2 separate regions of the Homo sapiens genome follow, and region 2 is linked to region 1. Evidence: promoter capture Hi-C in 16 types of primary human blood cells and fetal thymus (Javierre and others, 2016). All regions are on one chromosome and are shown on one strand. The core of a region is centred on a gene start or on the middle of the fragment in contact, and the rest is flanking DNA. Distances in the headings are between cores, read along the strand shown.

Region 1 (6,211 bases), core at 3,174-5,673:
CTGGGAACAGTCTTCACCAAGAGACAGAAAGTTAACTGGAACTAAAATTTTAATCCCCTCAAACTCCAAGGAGACCTGTTTTCCAGGCATGATCCAACAGAACCGCTGCTTTTTAGAGTACCTTGGAGAGGCTATTTCTGAGGACAGCAAGCTAACAGGATCACCCCCCACCACCCTTTGCTTCAATTTGCCCTAGTACTCAGACTTAATTGGTGGGGACATGGGCATGTGTATAAAGCACGTGGAGATTATTTGTTATAATTCATCAGGGCTACCATTTGAAATTGGCCAGCACAATCATCCCTACTTGACCATAGTAATCAAGATGTGGCTGAGAAAGAAGGAGTGTTTGTTTCAACAAGCCAGAGAGCTGGTCTTCTGCTTTCTAAATGGACAATTTATAAAATTTAGATAGAGAGGCATCTTCCACTCTAGGCATGTACAACCCACCCCGCCATCCCAGTACATTCTTCTCTTTCCTTACATTTACCCATCCCTCCTGCCCCTCCTGCTTTCTTGAAGGTGAGTGAGCAGGTCCCAGGCTTACAGCTCAGTTGGACTGCGGTTGCCCTGTCTTCTCTGGTGATTTCTCTGTCTTATGGTCAGGAGCCAGACTCTGAGTCTGTTCAACTATGTAGAGGAAAGGTCACTAGAGAAATTCCACTTCAGCATTCCTCTAGGGATCAGAGATTCTGACTGCTCAACAAAATTACCTGGAGGAGAATTTTAATAATATGGCTTCCTGGAACTTACCCTGAAACATTCTGATTCAGTCAGTCTGGGGTGAAGATCAATTGGCTATATTTTTCTAAATCTTTATAGATGATTCTGATGCACTGGCAAGTTTGGACATTGGATAAATTCTAAGCTCTTTGAGATCAGGAAACAGATGAATCTCCCATTCTGTATCCCACAATGACTAACTCAGCACCTGGCACACAGCAACACTTTAGAAATTGTTATTGAGTCAATGAACAAATGGATGGTTGAAAATAGGGTGATGGATTGGGAGTACAGTCAACCTAGCATCTTTTAAAATAATTTTTAAATTGACAAATAATAATTGTACACACTCATGGGGGTACACAGTGATGTTTTGATATGTATTGTGTACAATAAATCAGGGTAATTGGCATATCCATTATCTCAAACATTTATCATTTCTTTGTGTTGGAAAATTCAATATCCTTGTTCTAGCTATTTGAAATTATATATTGTTAACTATAATCATCCCACAGTGGTATAGAACAGTACAGCTTATTCTTCCTATCTAGCTATAATTGTGTTTACTTTAACAAATCTCTCCCTATTCATCCCTCCCAGCCTCCAGTGTCCTCTGTTCTACTGTTTACTTCTATGAGATCAACTGTTTTTTTTAGCTTTCACATAGAAGAACATACAGTGTTTAACTTTGCCTTCCTGGTTATTTCCTTCAACATAATGTCTCTCCATTCTACCCACGTTGCTGCACATGATAAGATTTTAGTCTTTTTTATGGCTGAGTTGTATTCCATCGTTAAATACACACACACACACACACACACACACACACACACACACACCATATTTTCTTTATCCATTCTTTTTTTTTTCTGGACACCTGGTCAACCTAGCATTTTACCTAAAGGCTAGGCAAGGGCCAATGGAGGCAGAAGGCCAAACCAGTCACAGTGGGGCCAGGGATAGGAATAAGGCAGCAGCGTGGGGGTGGAAATAGAAGAAAACTTAGGTAATTTGATCCCCAAGTGGGAGAACATGACCCCTGTCCTTGAAAATGCTGCTACTTTCAGCGGTGCTGCCGCTTGCTGCCCCTGTGCTGGGACTGACAGGCCTTGCGCTCTCCAGTCCCACTAAGAAAGCAAATTGGATTGGTCACTTCCCTGTTTAAACCTTCCAAGGCCCTGCATTGTTCTCAGGATGAAGTCAATTCTCCTTTCTCTGGCTGAGTCCTGGCTCCTCCTCAGCCCATCACTGCTACTTGCCCTCATCTCTCTGTGCCCACCGGCCACCCTGCCTTCCTGCAGATCCTACCGCCTGCGGTGTTCTTTCACCAGCCTGTCCTCTCTGCCTGCAATGCTCATTCCCTGCCCCCATGTTCCCTAGCAAACTCTCCTGCGACCGTTAAATTACAGCCTAAAAACATCCGCTTCTCTTTTCCCCTGGGGGCTGCCAGTTCCCTGGGGTAGAGTTCAGTCTGTTGTGTCCAAAGCCTAGCCAGTAGATGCTCCCATGTTTGTTGAATGAACAGAAGTTGGGACGGGAAACCAACAGACGCTCAGGACTGGGGTTTGTTTTTGTTCCTGTAAAACTGGATTGGTTCTGCAGAGGCACAAACAAGCCCGTTGATTTAGATCTATCGAGGAATTGGGGTAGGGGCAGGGGTGGCAGTTTTGCTAAGAAGAAAAGCAGGTGAAAGTGGGAGATTCCAAAAGAGACCAGAGAGAAGGCAGTGTGTCCTGCCCAATCTGCCGCTAGGGTCAGAGACCAGCTCCCTAGTCACACTCGGCCAAGGCAGGCTGCCGGGCTGACTCCAACTCTAAACAAAGCCAGGCAGCCGCCCAGGTGGGTGAAGGCTGCAGATTGCGCTCAGGCGTGACGCCGGGGTGCAGGTGGGAGCGACGCCCGGGTGCGTGGGTGCAGCGCTCGCCCGCCCGCGGTTAGGCGCACCGCGGGAACCGGTCAGGTGCGCCGTGTGGGGCGGGGCGGAGGCAGGGCGTGCGCCCCCAGGCTGGTGCCTGGGGCAGAGGATTCGCCTGCTTGACGCGCTGATGCCTTGATTTGGTCTGACAAGTGGAGGCTGCTTTGAGAAGCGGCCTGTATTTTTGACATTCAGGAAGCTAGAAATAACCAGCTGGGCTCCTGGCGCTCTGGCCGCAAATGTCTTGCGCTTTCCAGGCAACTGCCAGATTGAAGGGGCTTTTCCCCAATGTAGACCTGTGCTCTGTGTGCTAGGAGGCCGAGGTTCCAGTCCAGGCTCGGCTTCTGACTCCCTACTTTAGGAGGAATCACTGAATTGACTGCAGCTCGGCTTCTGCTCTGTAAAATGGGGCTGTTGCTAGCTGAGCCTCTTCTGCCTCTGGTAGAAAATGATTCCAAGTGGCTGCCCTGTCCACCCTAATCCCATGGCCCGAACTTGATGTCTGCTGCTTCTAGAAGCCTAGTGCTCCAAATATCTGCTCTGGGAGGGACTTGCAGATGATCCTGATTGGAAATGAGGCTGATTAACCTTTTGTGTATCATTGACTCTAGGACAATCTGTTGAAACCTAGGGGCTCTTACCCTAGACAAATTAACACACCAGCCAGATACAGCTTACAAGGGCAGAGAGTTGCTGGTTTGAACCACAGACCCCTGGTTTAACATCTGTAATCTAGTCAACCCCTCCTCTTTCTTGAAGGCTGAACCAAACACGAAGGGTTTTCCCCACCTTCCAATCCTCATACATGCAGACACCCCCTTTTCCTGCTTTCTCCTTCAGTCATCTTCCTCACCATCCCCCATGCTTGGGCACTCTCAGGAGGGAAATTGTCCTATAAATATCTGTAAAAGGCATGGTATGTCCTGTAGCAGAGAAAGCAAAAAATAAAAATATAATTCCTCCACCCCTGGCATGGCACGTGCAGAGCTCTGCCTGATCCTTCTCTCCCACAAGCCTCGGGGGTGGGTAAACAAAAGTGAGAGGTGAAGCTGCTGCAGCGAAGTACCCCTTCAAAATCTTCAGTACCCTTCAGAGCCAGCGCTGTCATCACTATCACATAAACTGTACAACTCCAACGTCAACCAGCAGCCGCCTGGCTGGCAGCAGGAAGAGCCAATGCAATTTTGCACAGTGGCTTGCTTGCCCAAGGTATTGCCTGGCAAATGGGCTTCTTGTGCAATGGGGAACCACAGGGAGGGGCCTCTTAAATGTACCTCAAAGAAACAGCTCTAACAATGGATGATTCAACAGGCTAGTAATTGGCGCTCACTCTTACCACATTGTTTTGATAAAACGACATAGCCCAACTGGGGATATGAAGGCAGTAAGTAGAAAAGCTAACCTCTTGCTACTCAAATTGTGGCTGAGAACCAGCGACATCCCATCACCAGAAGCTTTATAGAAAAGCCAGGCTCTGTCCCAGACCTATTGAAAGGAGATCTGCATTTTAACATGATTGCGAGAGGATCCACATCTTAAAGTTTCAGAGGCCTAATCCAAAGTCTTCTGATAATGATCATTAGAGTCCCAGCCACCCCCGACTTCCCCCTGGGAAAACCACAACAAATAGAACAAATTCCTCCAAGCTCTGCTCATAAGAAGAACCCACAACCCACAGACACCCCCTCACTCAACTAGAGACCTCACCCACCTGTTTGCAGAGTCACCCACCTTGGGCTACTTCTTTTCTACTATTTAATCTTCTGGGAAAACAGAGGTCTTCTATTTGGAGATAAAAATGACAAAGGAGAACCTCCTGAACAGCATCCAGTTTGCTTTTAGCTTTAGCCATCTCTCTGACCTCAGTGCTGCTGGACTCAGTTCCAAGATCTAACTGTCAAATGCTTTAGGGGAAACGGGAAGAGAAGTCCCTGGAGTAACCCATGTGCGCAGCCTGGCACTGTTTTCACTTGCCTTTGGAAATGAAGGTGCAGAAACCATGGGAGGTAAGGAGGGCACAGACTAGTGACTTCCAGTGTGGGACAGAGGGGAAAAGATGGAAGAGAAGTGCAGAAAACCACTCGGGAAAAGACAGGCTGGAGTGATGCCTGCTGAGACAGGGCCCTGATCTCCCAGGACTTCCCTTTCTGCCTGTTCTGTAGAAATGTCTCGGGTTTTGTGGTTTAGGAAAAGAGATGCTTAGCAAGCTTGTAGAAAATGTAATGTGGGCACTTTGTTGCTGTCCTGGCTTTTAAAGGACTCTGAAGCAGATCAGCTTCAAGGTATTGGCTATTCTGTTTGCAGCCTTAGAAAGACATCCTTGATGTTTTATTGTTCTGCCTTTGCTAAGAGCTGGAAACTCTCCCTGGGGAAATGGCTCACCTTGAAAGAGATGCTATCGTAGCTGAAAATGTTTTAGCTTCACTTCCAATCTCTGGTTCCTTGTGGGAAGTAACTGCTGCTGTGGTATATATGCCCTGTGCCTTTTATTTTTACCATCTTTACCTCGGTGGACACAGCTGGTTGAAACTCAGTAAAACTTATGCTTCCATGGAGATTGATTCAGACAACAGGAAAAATAAGTGTAGAAAAAAACTGCACAGTACAAGGGCTAGATTCAGGTTGTAGAACAAAGTGATTATTACTTAGAATCCTGGATTAGCAAGAGAATAAGAAAGATGCTGAGATTACCTAGTGTTATCACCATCCACGTGAAACGTAGAATAAAACTTTTTCCCCACCACATAGATATTGGGCAGTTTATTATAGATGCTACAAAGGGATTTATTATATTTTTCCCAAAATGGTTAATTAGAGGCATCCCAAATTACAACTCCTTTAGCATAACTCCCAGCTCCATGCAGCCTACTTACTAAGGACCCAGCTACTGACAGCTCAGCTCTTTGCCAATCCAACTTTTTTTCCCCATATGCTCAAACTTTTCTTCTCCAAGAAGACTTCCTGAATGATCCCAATTCATAGGGATCTCATCCTTAATGCAGGGGAAATTCACTGTTCTGGAGTAGTCTACCATACCATCACGCTCTTCTTTTTGTGTAATCCTGGATTTCTTCTCCAGTTGTTTTATTCTTGCCTGTCTACACAGATAGATCAGTAGCCTTCAATAGTCTGCATCTCCTGTTATCTTGCAGCCTCCTACTATAAACAGTAGGTGCTTTACTTATGCCAGTTGGGTTGACCTAGACAGTAGTCTCTAAGTAGCAGTCCTTGGCTCATCCTTCTGAAACCAACGAGCTCTTAGGCAGGCTGAGAAAGGGTTAGGACTGTTCACTCTGGGACATCCTTGGCTCTGTATGAGTGTTGTTTTTAAAAGCAGGGATTTTGTCTCCAGTGCATTGAAGAGATAAAACCCCATTGTCAGCATATTTCTTCAGGATCTTTCTGTGTTAGATCTCACTGCCAAGCCAGAGTCCCCACACACAGACTCTCACTTTTCCCCCATCAATAGGCTGAAGTGAGGCAAGTAGTAGAATGTGCTCAAATCATGGCCTATTCTTAATAAAAGAAACAAGGACAGCTTGGGGCTGGCTCGTCTCTTCTCAAATTCTCCTA
Region 2 (6,502 bases), core at 2,124-4,623, 1.3 Mb before region 1:
TCTCATCAATACATGTCAAAGCAGCTTGCTTCCCAAGTATTAAAACTTGTCTCTGCAAAGGATCTTGAGACTTTCATATCAAGATGAAAATAACTGCCTTAGGTAAAGCCACCTTAATTATCATCCTCACTGGATAGCACAAGGCATAAATTAATTTATAGAATATTAGTCTTCAGACTTCAGATGTGTTTGGGAGAGTACTGAGAGGTTCTTGTAGACTATTTTGGGGGTAACAAGTATTGACCTGAAATCGAACCACTTAAGTGAGCTTTTATTTTACCTACACTTAACCTGGCCTTCCCACAAGATACTTCTTGCAACATTTTATGAAATTTACCAAGCAAGGTTACTTGAGTTACTGGCAAAAATATCCATATATATTAATAGTTTCCAGAAAATGGAAACATGAACCCCGGTAACAAAAGCTCTGTAAAAGACCACATTCCTACCACCAGAATGTAATCTCTCTGTGTCATTTAAAGCTGAAAGCAAATTTCACCTTCTCTTTAAGGATATATTAAACTGACATGAAAGGATTTTTCTGCCTCCACTTTTGCTTTCCTAAAATCTCTTCTCTAAAGTGCAGCAAGAGCAATACATAGATCGGATCGTGTCATTACTCTGCATAAAAACCGCCAGTGGTTTTCCATCACACTTAGAATAAAATTCTTAAAAATCCTTACTGTGGCCTATAGGCACCCTGCCTATATCATACTCTCCTTCCCTCAGCATGCCGAGACATCTCAGAATTGTCTTCCATGGACATGCCCAGCTCGCTTCCACCCCAGGGCTTCTGCCCTTTCCTGGGACATTCTTCCCCCAGATCTTCTAAGGTGGCTTCTTCCTGTCAGTCAGGTCTGCCCAGGTGCCACCTTCTCTCATAGGATTTCCCTGAGCATCTAAAGTAACCTCTCCTTCAGCCCCTCTGTCACCTTGCCTGCCCATGTCATACTCTGCTCTGCATTCTTTACAGTACTTATCCCTCTCTGCATTGACCTTGTTTGTTTTCTGTTGACCTCGGGTAAACACCATGAACGCTGCCTCTCTTCACAGTATCTCCCTCATCTACAGCTGTGCCTGGCATATTCCGGAGGCTCAACATCTACTGAATGAATGAAATACATGGTGACTCAAGTTCTATAACATAAAATTACAAATACTATATAAAATATAGAAATAGGGCTTGCAGTCTTTCTTTTGAAGCACTATAAGAAGAACAATCTAGAGTTTGGATTCAGAACCAAATGGTCACCTTTGGTACAGATGGCATGAAGGAGAAAACTCACACAAAAGGGGTCCAGCAATGGTAAGGGAGGCAGATCTTTCCAGCAGAGGATCCTTGTCTTCCCTTGATCCCTTGTAGGTCATACGTACATGTTCCATTCACAAAGCTGAAGGACTAGAAGTTAAAACAAGTCTTGAAAAGAATGATTTTTGCCCTATAACCAGCAATTCTAGAGTGAATCTATAACTAAGCCCATATAAAATATGGGATGGATAATGTCAAATCATTTACAATGTATTATTAAAAATACATGGGCCAGGTGCAGTGGCTCACGTCTGTAATCCCAACATTTTGGGAGGCCAAGGCGGGTGGAGGTCAGGAGATTGAGACCATCCTGGCCAACATAGTGAAACCCCGTCTCTACTACAAAAAATACAAAAAGTAGCCGGGGCGTGGTGGTGGGCGCCTGTAATCCCAGCTACTGGGGAGGCTGAGGCAGGAGAATCGCTTGAACCCGAGAGGTGGAGGTTGCAGTGAGCCGAAATCGTGCCACTGCACTCCAGCCTGGTGACAGAGGGAGACTCCATCTAAATATATATATATATATACACACATATATGTATACATATATATACATGTATATACACATATACATATATACATATATACTTATATATACATATATACATATATACTTATATATACATATATACATATATATATACACACACACACACTATGTGCTTAAAAGTAAGTTATGTTTTCTTTTTGTCAACTTTTATTTTTAAGTTCCGGGGTACATGTGCAGGATGTCAAGGTTTGTTACATAGGTAAATGTGTGCCATGGTGGTTTGCCGCACAGATCAACCCATCACCCAGGTATTAAGCCCAGCACCCATTAGCTGTTCTTCTTGATGCTCTCCCTGCACCTCACAGGCCCCAGAGTGTGTTGTTCCCCTTCATATGTCCATGTGTTCTGCTCGTTCAGCTCTCACTTATAAGTGGGAACATGCAGTGCTTGGTTTTCTGTTCCTGCGTTAGTGTGCTGAGGATGACAGCTTCCAGCTCCATTCCAGAGTCTACGAAGAACTTAAACAAATATACAAGAAAAAAAAATTTTAAAGTGAGCAAAGGGCATGAACATTTTCTTATGTATGTACACATTATTGGGTCAGGCAACGTGGTAGGTGCATTGTGTACAGGATGTCATTTATTTCTGCAAGGTAGTTGATATACCCTGTTCCAGAAGAGGAAACCAAGTCTGAGAGAGGTTAAATAACTAGTCTACAGCCTAGGCAAAAGAGAGATGATCTTTGAACTCCAATTCGTGCAGTGGTCAAGGGGTATCCTCTTTGATTGCAACATGTTTAGAATGTTTTAAGGTTATTATTTTTCTGAATGCCTTCAAATGTGACAAGTATGCTCTACTGATCCCCATTGTGTCAGACCCAGCCTGATCTAACATTTATATTACCAGCCTGGTCCCAGTCAAAGGAGCTGGAGTTTTCAGATTCTGGTGCTAACCTGAATTCTACCTACCACTTCTTTACAAAGAGGCCTCTGCCGTGTTTGTACCAGCGGCAGGATGACTTGAAGCTCTCCATGGACATGCGGTGGGGGTGGAGGTGTTGATGGATATTGTCTTGGCTTTTGCCTTATGTGGGATTTTTAAGAAATGTGCAGGAAAAAAAAAACAGGAAAGTGTATTAGGAGAAGGCAGGATAGAAGTTTTCCTCACGTGGAGAGAGCAGGAGAATGGAGGAAGTGACTGCTGGAAGCAAAACTCTAAGAAAAAACCAATTTTACTTGGAGCTTAAAAAAGATTTTGCTGTGTAATGTGCATTGTAACTCTTCTCCCATCTCCCCAAGGCATCTTTGGTAAAGATGTCATTGTTGGGCTTTTTGTTTTCCATGGCACAATGCACTGAAAGGGCCTCAAGGGGAAAGCAAGTCATCTCTGGAAAGCTTAGCCAGAATTTGCAACAGAAAGAGTGGGAATTTTGGAATCAGGTCCTAGGCTTGCAAAAGAGCTCTTTTTCACAGCCTTAGCTTCCTCCTTTGTAAAATGGAAAAAAAAATAGTTTCTTTTTTGCAAAGTTGTTGTGAGAATTAAATAACACTCATGAGGGGCATTGTATGGAGCTTGGCACATTCTAGGCCCTCTTTTTATATTGAACTAATATGATCTTCTCTGTAATTCCCATGAATTAATTCCAGTTCTATTTTGCAAAACATTGATTCTTTAACCTTTTTCATGTAATGGTGCTCCAGTTTGTCTAGATCCTTCAAGAAGAGAAAATGCATATCAACATCTTTGTATCTAGTTGCTCTCAAGCTTAAAATGATGTCATTTTTCAATTATTGCTTTTATTATACAGTAAAAACATATTTAGAAGAGACTCAAGATAAATATTAAAAGTTAAGCTAGTTACTGAACAAATTTCTTAAATATTTACGAAAAATAAGATCAACACACATTTGACCATGGCAGCTTTTCTAAAGGCAAAGGATCTAATTTGGTGATTAACTAACCATATTGAGCACTCATTAGGTGTCAGGGATGTACCAGTTCTTCTACTGTATTTGGGTGTTTTTAATTATGAATAACCAAATACAAAAATCAAAGTAGTTTAAACAATGAGGAGCATTTATTATCACTCTTAAAAATAAATTCCCAAGGTGGGCAATTGCACGGATGGCTCAATGGCTTTACAATGTGAAAGATCCAGCCACTTGCTATCAATTCTTTTCTCTACATTGCCTTGGTTCTTTGCAAGATAACCTTGAAATTCCAGGCTCACATATAGAAATAACAACATATGGCTGAGGAAGGCATTTTCTCTCCTGTGATTCTTCTTATTAGGGAAGAAAACCTCTCTACCCCCTCAAGACTTCTCAATTTCCTTTATCCAGAATTGGGCTACCTCACTATGTCCCCAGGCAGTGCTTCTCAATTTTTTCACACCATGACACAAATACAAAGATAACGTTTTTGTGACACAGAGGGGTACCTGGGTAATGTTGCTTGTGGCCAGTCATACCATCCCAGGGCTTCAGCAGCTCAGCCTCACTTGAATGTCCCAAGGGCTTAAGGGATCCATACCTTATCACATCTATGACCCATCTGAGACATACCAGGGTATGCTGGCACATAGATTGGTATGCTCTGCTCTAAGCTACAAGGGAGGGTGAGAGAGCATGCATCCATATACATGCTCTAGTGAGAGAAGGATCTGCCAACGAGGAGGCTCTGCCAAGTAGTAGGAAGTGGTGGGGCAACCAACCGCATCAGTCATCTTTTCAAGGGTGCCTTCATCTATTCTAATTTTCACAACACATTTTAGGAGGAAGTATTCTGTGGAGGATAAAACCAAGGCTTATAATTTAAATGACTTGCCTGAGGTCACAGAACCAGTGAGTGGTTCAATTGACACAGCAGATGCAGATCCAGGTGTGTGCTGGGAAATGTTTAACAACCACCTTTCCAAATGTAGTTCCAACATGGCTATTGGTTAATATTTTCATTTAAGATAAAAATAAAACAACAAAAATGTATGTTAGAGCTTATTAGTCAATGATGTGACTTCATTGCTAAATTGAATGTTTTTATGCTATTCACCATGTAACAGTTATAGACACGACATGTCTTTTACATTTAATCTGCATAAAACATTTTCTCTGTCACTTAAGCCTAGACCAAGCTTGTCCAACCCTGGGCCTGTGGGCCGCATACAGCCCAGGATGGCTTTGAATGCAGCCCAACACAAATTCGTAAACTTTCTTAAAATGTGAGATTTTGTGTGTGTGTGTGATTTTGTTTCGTTTTGTTTTGTATTAGCTCATCAGCTATCATTAGTGTTAGCGTATTTTATGTGTGGCCCAAGACTATTTTTCTTCTGCCAATGTGGCCGAGGGAAGCAAAAGATTGGACAACCCTGGTCTAGCCCACAACCAGCAAAGCAATAAGTGAAGCCCTCATCTGTGGTGTCCGCTGATCAAGCTACCAAAGAAAACTCACTAAATGTGGTATTGGGAAGAGATGTACAATTACATATAGGGAATTTCCACCATGCAGACACAATGCATGTAAATTGCCTAAAGAACAAAGACAATATTAAAATGTATTAACATAATTTGGAAGTGATGTTTTTATCACATACTACCTTTGTTTAAAATTTATTTCATTGGAAGTTTATCTAACTTAATTTTTATTTCTATTTTTATATTTATTTATTGATTGATTTTTGAGATGGAGTCTCACCTTGTCACCCAGGCTGGAGTGCAATGGCGCAATCTCAGCTCACTGCAACCTCTGCCTCCTGGGTTCAAGCAATTCTCCTGCCTCAGCCTCCCAAGTAGCTAGGATTACAGGCTCCCGACACCACACCTGGCTAATTTTTGTATTTTTAGTAGAGACGGGGTTTCACCATGTTGGCCAGGCTGATCTCAAACTCCTGATCTCAGGTGATCCACCCACCTCAGCCTCCCAAAGTGCTGGGAATATAGGCATGAGACACTGCACCCAGCCTATATCATTTAATTTTTAATAATGAGTATTTAACAAACAGCAGGCAAAATTTCTGAAAATTTAATAATCTGCTGTCATGAGCCAGTATAGGCCAGCTCTCCACACCACGGACTGGAACTAAGTTCAGCACTCTTTCCACTCCTGCTGCCTTTACTACCAGCATGTAAAAGCAATGATGCTCAGTATCGTACGGGGGACAAACCTGGGTACCCGTCATTAATTTCTGTGACCCTGGGTAGTTACTACCAGATGCTTAGTTTTCTCTTCTATAAAGGAGGAGATTAAGAGTCCTTGCCCTGTCTACCTGCAAGGGTTTTTGAGAGGATTAAACTGGTTAGTCTGTATGATAGTGCTTTGTAAACTGCAGAGTCAGGTTCAGATAAAAGGCTTTATGATGATGACAATTTCATTACTGTTTTCAACCAGGCCACCATTGTTAAGGATGCAGTGTGTCGCTGCTTTCAAAAGTATGGTTTAGTTTGAGATCTTCTGTAATGCCCAGGATAGACAGTAAACACCCAGAAGAATTGTTCTGAAGAAGCCCACTCAAATCTGTGCTAGTCTTTACTTAGCACAAATAGGTACCTATATTGGGATGAAAACTATTTATTTGAAGCTTATAATTCACTCTTTTCTAGCTGCTGCTGGATTGTCTGACGGGTCTTTCCTGGAGTTATGGAATACTTCTCAATTTCAATAGTTGAATAAAGGTGTTTTTTTTTCTGTCATGCAGGCTAGGGTGCAGGGGC

What was found. Contacts are between HindIII fragments. The CHiCAGO score rates a contact against its expected background, and 5 or more counts as called.
Region 2: a contact is called between a fragment that was not itself captured here and the fragment with the promoter of LINC03033 in region 1, in 1 of 17 cell types (neutrophils). The highest score is 5.4, in neutrophils.

Annotation. Positions count from the first base shown.
Region 1 is chr14:61,566,117-61,572,327 of GRCh38, forward strand. LINC03033 (long intergenic non-protein coding RNA 3033) reads left to right here and starts at 4,424. Exons shown (of 3, transcript NR_039985.1): 1 at 4,424-4,644. LINC01303 (long intergenic non-protein coding RNA 1303) reads right to left here and starts at 4,537. Exons shown (of 5, transcript NR_110416.1): 1 at 4,370-4,537; 2 at 3,428-3,561. RefSeq lists enhancers at 2,129-2,630, 2,631-3,130 and silencers at 2,472-2,541, 2,622-2,781, 3,522-3,714. The HindIII fragment of the contact is 753 bases long and covers 4,091-4,843 here.
Region 2 is chr14:60,238,141-60,244,642 of GRCh38, forward strand. LOC101927702 (a long non-coding RNA gene) reads right to left here. Exons shown (of 3, transcript NR_188027.1): 2 at 4,623-4,730; 3 at 1,986-2,314. Among named protein-coding and RNA genes, the nearest start is that of PPM1A, 7.8 kb to the right of the region's middle. The HindIII fragment of the contact is 370 bases long and covers 3,189-3,558 here.